Linked DNA regions of Homo sapiens: region 2 is linked to region 1. The links are contacts of gene promoters, found by promoter capture Hi-C in human tissues and cell types (Jung and others, 2019). All regions are on one chromosome and are shown on one strand. The core of a region is centred on a gene start or on the middle of the fragment in contact, and the rest is flanking DNA. Distances in the headings are between cores, read along the strand shown. Region 1 overlaps ARHGEF1 (Rho guanine nucleotide exchange factor 1). Region 2 holds the start of CIC (capicua transcriptional repressor).

Region 1 (5,421 bases), core at 2,110-4,609:
AGGCACTTGGGGGTGGGGGTGGAGGGGTGGCCCCCACAGGCAATACTGAGATGGCCCGGGTCACCGTGGTGCCCTCCAGAATGGAGCCCTGAGTCCCCCAAGCAGAGGGCAGGAGGGAGAGATGGCCGAGGCTCATGCGGGGCCAGTAACCCCAGCTGGGCCCCTCCCAGGCGTGGCCCACAGCTCCCTCTCCTCAGGCCCTCGGGGTGTGAGATGCTGCGGCAGCTGTGTGGGTGGGGGTGGTCCCTCACGTCCTCTCCCCCATTCCTCTCCTTCTTGCAAAAGGCCTGGGGGATGTAGGAGAAGAGGGGAGACGGGGAGAGATGGAGAGAGAGACAGGGAGAGACAGACACAGAGACAAGACAGGGAGAGCAGAGAGAGAAGGGGAGGTGGGGAGAGGCAGGCGGGCACAGAGACAGAGAAACAGATTATCAGAAACAGAGACACAGAGATGAGAAACACGAGGTGGAGTGGGGAGATTCAGAAAAGACAAAGAGGGAGATGGACAGAAGGGGCTGTAGGGATGCGAGCTCTGGAGGGGGACCCTCCTTTCAGGACAGCGCCCTGGCCCCCAGGTGCCCCACTCACCTTCCTGGGCGGGAACCTCAAGTGCAGCCAGGCTGGGGGACAGAGTTCCCCCCAAGCTGAGACAGGAGGGGTCTCAGGCGGCAAAATTCCTCCTCCAACTCCTGGTGGGGTGGGGGTCATGGATGAGGGGGGCCCCTTCCTTCCCCAGCCCACTCAGGGCACCCCTGGCCCGTCCCGCCCCACCTCCAGCTGCTTCATGGTCTCCTCCAAGCTGAGCAGGTTCTCCTGGATTTCCTGGGTCCGTGCTGGGCTCAGGGGGCCGCCCCCTGGGACCCCATCCCCATCTCGAGGAGGCCCCGCCCCATTGTCTTCCTCCGCCGGAAACAGAAGCTGCTTCAGGGACAGCACTGGCCAGGGGCAAGGAGGGGTGGAGTCAGGAGACCAGGGGGCTGGGCTGGGATCTGGGATGGGGGATTCCAAAGGGGATGTGTAGGGGCTGGAGGTGAAGGTGGGTGCCAGGCAAGGCTGAGCAGATGGGGTTCGGGGATCCAAAGGGAGGTGAAGAAGTGAGGCTGGGTTTAGGGTTGGGACAGGGCAGGAAGGTACTGAAGACAGAGATGTGTTCAGGAAGAGGCTAAATATAGAATCAAGCAAGGGATGGTGGCTGCAGAAGAGGGACGTGGGCACCCAGGACAGTGGTGCAGGCTGGGTGGGTTTGGAGCATTTGTTTTCTGGCAGCTGGGCGTAAGGAAATTTTTGACGTGGAGAGCCTTGTTCTAGTTGGAACAGAGGCACTGTTTGGGCTGGTGGCCACCCTGGAGGGGCAGAGCTGGGCTACCTTTCCGAAGGGCCGTGGCAGCGAGCTGGCCCTCGGGGCCTGGTCTGCAGAAGGGCAGGAGGTCACTGAGGATTCTCTCGGTCCGGGCTGGATTGGGGAACAGAGAGGGAGCTCAGATCCTGCCGGGCCTCCTGTGGATGCCTCTCTTCACCCGGCAGCCCCAACCTGGCCCCTCACCCAGCATCCCTCTGGTCTCACCATCAGCTGGAGACGTCTCTCGGCCACCATTGCCGTTCTCAGAGCTGCTGAGGAGGGGTTCTCGGGTGCTGAGGGGAGGAAGTGCTGGGTGACCCCACACCCCTGGCCCTGGGGGGCCGCAGGGGCAGGGAGACAGAGAGCTGGAGGTGGGGAGGCAGGGAGGTCCGGAGACAGAGACAGAGGTCGAGGCCGGGAGACAGGGAGACAGAGAGGCCCAGACAATGGAAGACACAGAGGCCTGGAGACAGGAGACAGACGGGGCAGTGGTGGGGTCGGCACATGCGCACACACACACACATGCATGCACATGCTGTCACACGCATGCACACATATGCATACACACACACCATACACGCACACACATGCACACGCACACATGCATGCATACACACACTATATATGCACGCACAGTCACATACTTGCGTACAGACACACATGTATGCACACACATGCATTCACACATGTGCATGCTCACACAGAGACGGTTCTGGAGTTGTGGAGGGAAGCCTGCCCCGCCTTCCGGCCCCACTCCCTGAACCTCCAGCTCTCTCCATGGCCCCCCTCACCTGCTCGGGCTGGGCCGGGGCTTAGGGCGAGAGGCAGGGGCAGGGACTTTCAGGGATCCGGCAGTCTCAGTGATGAGAGCACACCAGCTGGGGAGAAAGGCCAAATCCCTGGGCAGTCAGAGCCCCCAGACCCTATGCCAGGGCCTCCCCACAGCCCTCCTGTCCCTGGGAACCCAGAAACCTGGGCGTCCTCCACCCACACTCAGAACTCAGACCCCCCCTCACTTTTTCCGCTCCGACACAGTCTGTGCCACCAGCTCGTATATCTGGGCCTCCTGGTCCCAGGTAAAAAGGACGTAGAAGGCTTTGTGATCTGCAGGGAGAGGGGGAGATGGGGCTCAGAGCCCAGGTCCCCCCAGTGCCTGCCCCTCCCTAAGCACAAGCTGGAGAAGTCACCCACAGTGGTGGCGCTCTCAGGGCTCCCATGGCTCAACTCACCACTCACTGTCTGCTAATATCCAGGGCCCGATGTGTCCTCCTGAGCCCCACCTCTCACACCTCCTTATGGAATCGGGCATGTACCCTGGCTTACCTAACGAAACCCCTCCAGCCACTCCCACCCTCCAGCCGCTTCCAGTGTTTGTGGCCCTGGTGCAACTTCCTAGTAGTATGTTTACAAATCCCTCCTCACTGGACTCCTGGCCTTTCTTCTCCTTGTTTACACAAGACACGCCTCTGTGCAAACACCTGCAGCAGTTCCTACCTCACTTATAAACCCTCTAGGCCTGGCCCCGCCCTGCCCACCTCCACCTACTTCTCAACCTCTTTGCTAGAATGCTGGCTCCCTGGCTCTCTAGAGGGTTCTGCTCCCCACTCCACAGGCAGCTCTGCCCAAAAAAGACACCCTCTGCCCTGGGCCATGCAGTGGCTGCACTCACCGGTGGCCACCTCGCGGGTCATGGCGGAGGTGAGCCGCAGCACGGGCCGCAGCATGGTCTTGCCATCGGGCGTGGGCGTCAGTGTCCGGCTATGGGACTTGAGCAGCAGCCGCTCGTCCTGGCGCTGGAGCAGCAGCAGCAGGTCGTCCAGCAGCAGCACATGCACCTCTACGGGGCGAGCAGTGCTCACACGGCGTGCCCCCGCGCGACCCCCTCCCCGCCCTTGGCTCACTGCCCCAACACCCTGCACTAGGCAGCTGCTCTGGCACTCACCCACTGCCTTGTCCTTAGTCACCCGCCACGTCAGTGGGCCCTCGTGGACCAATTTCTTCTTGGTGATGTCCAGGTTCTGGGGCAGGAGGGGGTGATGGTTTGTGCAGGTTGGCAGGGGGTGATTGGGGTTGGTGGGGAGGGGAAGGGCAGGGCAGTGGCCGGGGATGACCACAGGCTGGGGATCATGGGATTGGCATGAGGTGGGGGACAGAGCTCTCGCTTCCTGGGTGTATTATGGGATGGGCAGGACAGGCTGGGGGCTGTATCACAGAATCCCCTGGGCCAAGGAGTAGGGGGGCGGGGGAGGCAGGAGGGTATGGTCACACCTTGAACTCGCTCAGCATAGGGTCGCTGCTCTGCCGAAGGTGGGACAAGTCCAGGCGCCGCTGATAGTCCTTGAGCCTCTGGGGCAGAGACGGGAGCATTATGGGGACAAGCTAAGTGCTGGGGCTGACCTGCAGTGACCCACATTGGTAAGATGAGAGCCAAGACCAACTTCTGATGCGGGCAAGCTGAGGGTTGGGCCTGACCTCCAATGACCCTGAGAGGGAGATGCTGAGGGCCAAGCCAACCCCTGGACACAGTGACCCTTGAGGGAGACAAGCCAAGGGGTGGGGTGTGACTTCTGGACAGGCTGAGGTAGGGTCCACCCCCTGCTCTCACACCATCCACTGTCCCGGGTGTGGGGCCAGCCCAGGCTCACCAGCAGGTCCTCCATGTCACGCACGGCTTGGTTGACGTGGTGTAGAATTTCCCGGCAGCACTCGGCTGCCAGCTCCACTTTCTCCCGTTCTGTGGGCTCTTCTGCAGGCAAGGGAGAGAGCAGCTCTGGTGAACCCCTGCCCTGGAGGCTCCAGATTGGGCAGCCAAGGTTAGACAAAGGACAGCTGGCCGGGCATGGTGGCTCACGCCTGTAATCCAAGCACTTTGGGAGGCTGAGGCGGGAGGATAGCTTGAGACCAGGAGTTCAAAGCCAGCCTGGGCAACATGGCGAGACCCCGTCTCTAAAAAAAAAAACTAAAAAAATTAGCTGGGCATGGTGGTGTGCCCTTGGGGTCCCAGCTACTTGGGGAGCTGAGGTGGGAGGATGGTAGATCCTGGGAGGTTGAGGCTGCAGTGAGCTGTGATGGTATCACTGATGAAAATGAGTGAGAAAAAAAATGTAAAAAAAAAAGAGGAGAGCCGAGGCCCAGAGATCCAGGCCCGCGGTACCTGTGTTCTGCCCGATGCTCTGCAGGAGCAGGGGGTACTTGGTCAGCCGCTGCATCTCCGTGGGGATCATGTCCTTCAGCTGCAGGCGGCGGCACCGCGGGCGGCTCTCAGCTTCCTGCGGGAAACATGCTGGTGTTGCGATGGCCCAGGCTTTGGGCTCACCCCAGGGCGCAGGCACCTAGGAGTCTGGGTCTCCAGGCCCCTCCTCCCTGGGAAGCTGGAGTCCAGACCCCACCTCACCTGCACGAAGGCACAGAACCGAGGGTCCTTGCGTTGCTTGGCTTTGAGCTGCTCTAAGGCAAATGACTGGCGGCTGCAGAAGCGGGAGGAGATTTTCTGGAACCAGGAGCCCTCAGCACCATCAAACTACAGCGAGATTCAGGCCAGGCAGGTGTCTCAGTGGGGATGGGCAAGAACAGGGACTAAAGTACGACAGGCTGGAAGCCCAGACCCTGGGACTGGAGTAGGGTGGGCTCAGGACCCGTCCCGGGCCTGAATTCCATGTGTCTAGCTGGGAGGAGCGGGAGGGCTGGGCATCTCACCCGGGCCAGCAGCACGTCTCCGATCTCCTCGATGAGGTAGCCACTCTCCTGCCTCCGCTTCATCAGGCGATCGAGGAACAGGGCTGTGGGGGCAGGAGGAAAGGGATGCTCCACCAGGGTCTGGAAGATGCTGTGCGGGGCCTGCTGCGGTGTGGTGGGGGTAGGGCTGCAGGTGTGTCTGTGTCTGATCCTCGGGACCGGATGGCGTATCTGCCCCCACCCCATGTGAACCCTGGGGTTCCCGAGCAGGTTGAACCCAGGGCTAGAGCAGAGCTGCCCGTGGGGCAGTGGGGTACACAGAGGGACCCTGGCTCTGCACTCACAATGCACCTCGATGAGCTCGTCCAGGCTGGGGAAGATGTTCTGCAGCTCCTCCAAGGGGAAGA
Region 2 (5,109 bases), core at 2,187-4,686, 370 kb before region 1:
GGCTGAGACGGACCTTGTAGGCAGCTGGCTTGGTGGCCACCTCCACCACCACACCTTCCCGGTAGGCAGCCACGCCGGGCTCCACACAGGTACAGACAGCTGTGCCCACCACCAGGGCACCTGGTGGGGGTGTGGCATCCAAAACTACATCCACACCAGCGCCTGGCACCCCCTCATAGAAAGTCAGGGCTCGGTCACCAGGGAACTGCACGCCCAGGTCCTGGCTTCGGCGCACCTGGCGCACCACAGCCGGCAGGAAAAGGCCATCACCACGCCGAGCCAGCACCCGCTGGGACCGCAGCTGCCGCAGGTCATAGCTGCCACTGGTGCTGCCAGGGGGCCAAGGGCCTGGACCACAAGCCTCAGCCGGCTCATCCTCCAGGTCCGCCGAGTGCTCGCTGGCTGTGTCAGTGGAGGAGGAACGAGTGGAGGTGGGTGGCCGTGGAGGCACCCCCAGGCCACTGGCCTCCTCAGGGGTCCGCACCCGCTCTTCAGGGGCCCCAGCCACCCCACTGCTGCCAGCTCCGTGCTCCTCCACATACTTCTTCTTGGGCGCTCGAGACTTGAACGTGGCTGTCTTGCGGCTGAGTGAGGGCTCCCAGCGGCCTGCCTCCCCATCCCCTTTGGGGTCCTCTGCTGGGCCTGGAGCCGGGTCGCCAGGGTGCAGCTCCAGTGGAGGACCTTCAGCCCCAGGGCCCCGCTCAGCCTCCTCCTCCTCCCCTTCCTCAGCCTCTTCGGGCCCGGACTGTGGTTGCGGCTGCTGTGCCTCGTCATCCTCCTCCTCTGGCTTGTCACCCTCCCCAGCCCCTCGCCGCCTCAGAGCCTTGGCCCTGGTGGCTGGGGGGGACTTGCTGCCACTGCCAGGACCTGAAAGGCCAGTGCATGCCTTCTTCATTGGCTTCATTTTTGTCCACCTGCAGGGTGGGAGAGCGGAGGATTACGCGGAGCAACTCAGGAACCTCTCCAGAGCCAGTGTACCCTAAGATTTCCCACTTGCTGAGTCTACTGTCTCCATCCCACCATCCCCAAGGCCTCCTCTCTGGCTGCTGTCAACTCATGTGATACCTCAGTCAGCACCAGGCACAGGTGAGCACCTGAGTCCCCTGAGTATACACACTCTGGCTCCTTGGGGAACAGACACCTGCTGGCTCTGCAAAGGACACAGAGCACATGCTCTGAATGCCCCAAGGGGACATCAAAAGCACTAACAGTTCACACCTATGGAGCACTCCCTGTGTCCTGAACTCCATGCTAAGCTTGCCTTTATTAACCTGTTTCATCCTCACAACAGCCCTAAAAGCAGGTGCTACTATCGGCCTCATTTCACACCTGAGGAAACTGAGCCACAAAAAGATGAGACAACTTGTCCAAGATCATCCAGGTGGGAAACAGCAGTGCTAGGGTCTGAACCCAGGCTCTCTGGCTCCAGAGTCCGTGCTCCTGACCATTTCAGTGTGCTGCCTGTCACATGATCCAGAGGGCACATTTACTCGCACTGTCACCATGCAGAGAGTACATGCACTCAGACACACACACACATGCACAAGTACCAAGTCACAAAAAGGGTGGTGACTGGGCTGTGATATGAGCCTTTCTCCACCCCCCCACCCTCCCTCTGCCCCTCTGGGCAGCCTGGCATGGCCAGGCACTGTGGGAAGAAGTGGGCAGCTGAGAGTCCCGAGGGACGGCTGCCCACTCTGCTCTGCACCCTAGGGCTGCCAGGTACAGCCATCTCCCCAGATCCTGGCAGGGAGCAGGCAGGGGCATGTCTGGGGCAAGAGCTCATACCCAGCACTGCCACGGGGCCGTGCATGAGCACACGCACGCGCACAAACACACACACACGCACAGAAGCACGCACACGTCATCACACAGTGGGACACAGAGCTACACCCCAGGGTTTCTCTGTCCCACTGGATGGGAGCCTGCTCCTCCCCCCACAGCACCCAGCGTGATACCCGCAAGCCCAGCCCCCCTCTTCTTGCCTGCATGCATCCCCGCCCTGGCTGGGCTGGCTCTGGCAGGGTGGCTGAGTCGGCTAGCCCCCCGCAGGCCCCCAAATATGCCCTCCAACTCCAAGTGGGGATAGGTGGGATAAGGTCAAAGAAAGCAGGACAAGCCCAACAGGCCAACCTCACCCACTTCCTGAACAGTCATTACTGCCCGCCCCCTTTCGAGCTGCCCTGAGAAAAGAAAAGGGGAAAAAACTTTACTCTGAAGTGACTAAGAGAACCTGAGAGGCCAAAACAGAGGCCTCTAGGAGGGTTGGGGGACCCAGAACCATAAGCCAAACACAATGAGAGGCAACCCCGACTCAGTCTTCCAGCTACTGGGGGACCCTTGACCTCATGCTCTCTCACTAGGGGCCTGCTCCTCCTGTGGACCCTGGAGTCCCAGGCCTGCCCTTTCTTGGGCCAATCCTGGGGTCCTCACAGGCAGAGCCTGGAGGGCGTCCCGGGGCTGGCACCCAAATGCCCAGAAGTTGGGCAGCCATCACCACCTAATACCCGCTGACCCACTAGACTACCATGTTGGGGACTGAGATCTGGCTCCAGTTTTTTCCAAGCACAAACCTTTGCATACCCCACCCAGGGCCTACAACTATGCCGCCTGGACCCCTAGACCTTGCTGCCTGGCCCAGCCTCTCTTCGCCCCAGAGCTGCTTTCTTTCCCCTAGGGCCTACTCTCTTCCTGTCCACCCTGTCTGAATAACTCCCACCCAAGCCCCGGGGGCCCTCACCTTCCTCAGATCTGAGTAGTAACTCCCGGAGCCCAGGCCAGCCCAGGCCCTGGCTCTTTGGGGTCTCATACCCTCTGTTCCCATTAGCCCTCCTGGCACCAGCTTCTCTGACACTCTCTCTCTCATCCTGTCACTACCTCTATCTCTACCTCTCGGTTAAAATGCCCTAGGCCCCCTCCTGTCACCCCCTCCTTGTCACCCCCATTTATCTCTGTCACCTATTCCTCCCAGTCACTGTCCTGTCAGCCATCTCCGGACCTGTCACCTTCTCTCCCCATCACCTCTCCTTGTCACACTCTCCAACTCTGTCCCCTCCCTCTCCCTGTCACCCTGATCTAGTCCTGTCACCCCTCCATTCCTGTTACCCTTCTTTGCCCACCACCCCCTCCCCCAGTTACCCTTTTTCTGTCAAACCCCCACCACTTCCTCCACTCCCTCCTCCCTTCCCACCATTCCGCCCACCCCTTTCCCCCTGTACCCCCTCCCCGTCCCTGCCACCTGTCCCCTCTCGGCCCCCAGCCCCCCGGACCCCCCTTTCCTGTGTCAGCCCTGGCCCCGCCCCTCACCTTGGGCTCGGCGGGGTTTCGGGGCGGGGGGCCGTGGCCCCGGCTCGGTCCGGTCCGGTCCCTCCCCGCCCCCCCTCCGGCTCTCCCTCTCGATTCTCCCTTTTTTTTTTACTCCAACACACAAAATGGTGAATGGACCTGCAACAGCTGGAGCAGCCAGCCAATCAGCGATCACAACCCCACTGACCGGCGCCAGCCTAGACCAATAGATATCCGCAGACTGGTCGGCTCCGCCTCTCGACGACGAGCGACGCTCGCGGCGACCAATTGGGCCCATCGGGCAGCGCTAGGGGGCGGGGCCAAAGTCCAAGACCGGCCTCCCTCCGGGACCGACACCAACCTGAGCCTACGACTGCCTGATCTGCCTAGGGCCCTACCCTACAACAAGTGAAGGACACCAGTCGTGTCCAATTGCAGGCCGTCTTAGTTCCAAATGACAAATACAGTACCCAGTCGCCATGCAGCCTAGGCCGGAACCCAGCCTCTGTGAGGGACAGTAGCCAATGAAATGAAAGGAGGAGGGGCTAAGGGACGGGTTGTCCAATGAACGGAGGTAGAAGGCGTGGCCCGAACGTTTGTTGACCGGCTAGTCGCAGTTCCTGCTGGGAACCGTAGTCTTCTCACGTCTTCGGCCCATAGCCGACAGTACAAGGCAGACTACAACTCCCATGTGACAGAGTGCTTGGAGCACCAAAGAAACCCGGCGAGGAGAAAAAGTCGAAAAGGGCAGTTCGTCGTGAGTCTCACTGGACGCCAGGAGTATCTTAGACCCAGGGCCCCGACTCACCCGTATTCCTGGCTCTGGCGTCGCCGGTGGCTCCTCTCAGTGGCAGCGGTAGCGGCACGAGGGGGAGGTGCAAGGAGCAGCCAACCGCCACCCGCGAGCCCCGCAGCCAATCAGCAGCGGCCGGGGCGGTGCAATGACCTCACCGGTTCTACTCTCTTACCCCTCCCCCACGTGGTTGTTGCTGCCGGTAGACGGAGTAGGGAAGTTTGGATTGGGGGAGGGGAGGAGAACCAGTGATGTCACCTTTCCCCTTGTTGATTGGCTGCCGGGTGGCCGGGACTACGACCAATTGACGGTCTCGAAAAGTCTGGCGCGGCCCCGCGGAAAGCCCTGTTGCCACCGGGAGGGGAGAGAACGCGCGCTTGTGGGGTGTCGCGCGCTGCAGTATAGGCAACGCGCGCGGCCTGGGGCCCGGGGGACAGGTCACCTCCTCCAAGAGTTTGACATTTAGGACAGCGCAGTTTGACAGCCCACTAGGCATTGGGGCAGGGGGCCGAGATGACGAAATGCAGCGCTTCTTGGGGCTTCGCACTGCATTACGTGGAGAGCTACACTTTGTGGGTGTACGCCCCTGACAGAGGCAGATTTTTAAAGATCCCAGGGGTAGGAGGGTATCACACTGGAGTGGAGGAGGACAGGGAGATGCCCTGTTTGTAGTAGATGCCTGCTGCCCAGATACGGGTTTACAACCAGATGGTGAACCTGTCTGCAATGCATCTATGCCCTCCACTTTGTATTCGCCCTGGTCCGAGGCTAATGGGAAGCAATATGGGTACGCTGGCCGCAGGGAGGCTTTCTTTTGCCTGTGACAGGTTCAGATTCCACACTGGAATTCACACCACTTGTGAGGAAACTGCATCCAGTCTATTGCAAGTCATACTGTCCATGAAACACTCAAACTACGTGTGAAAGAATGTGCTAGGGCATAGAGCTAGTTCATAGCATAGAAGAAATATTAGTTGTCCAATGGGGTTCATGGAATATGAAGGATATTCACATCTATGAGAAAGTCCCAC

What was found. Contacts are between HindIII fragments. The study calls those that stand out against the background at their distance.
Region 2: a contact is called between the fragment with the promoter of CIC here and a fragment that was not itself captured in region 1, in 2 of the 25 tissues and cell types used here (dorsolateral prefrontal cortex and lymphoblastoid cells).

The regions. Positions count from the first base shown.
Region 1 is chr19:41,901,971-41,907,391 of GRCh38, reverse strand. It overlaps ARHGEF1 (Rho guanine nucleotide exchange factor 1), which reads right to left. Exons shown (of 29, transcript NM_004706.4): 15 at 5,359-5,421; 16 at 5,036-5,118; 17 at 4,734-4,859; 18 at 4,494-4,608; 19 at 3,985-4,085; 20 at 3,608-3,685; 21 at 3,282-3,357; 22 at 3,009-3,176; 23 at 2,356-2,443; 24 at 2,131-2,217; 25 at 1,565-1,632; 26 at 1,367-1,453; 27 at 772-935; 28 at 589-689; 1 more. The coding sequence ends at 606. Among named protein-coding and RNA genes, the nearest start is that of ARHGEF1, 21 kb to the right of the region's middle. RefSeq lists enhancers at 1,209-1,813, 2,419-3,023, 3,024-3,629. The HindIII fragment of the contact is 9,702 bases long and covers 1-5,421 here.
Region 2 is chr19:42,267,579-42,272,687 of GRCh38, reverse strand. CIC (capicua transcriptional repressor) reads right to left here and starts at 3,436. Exons shown (of 21, transcript NM_001386298.1): 1 at 3,307-3,436; 2 at 1-914. The coding sequence starts at 904. RefSeq lists enhancers at 1,728-1,777, 3,937-4,446. The HindIII fragment of the contact is 15,630 bases long and covers 1-5,109 here.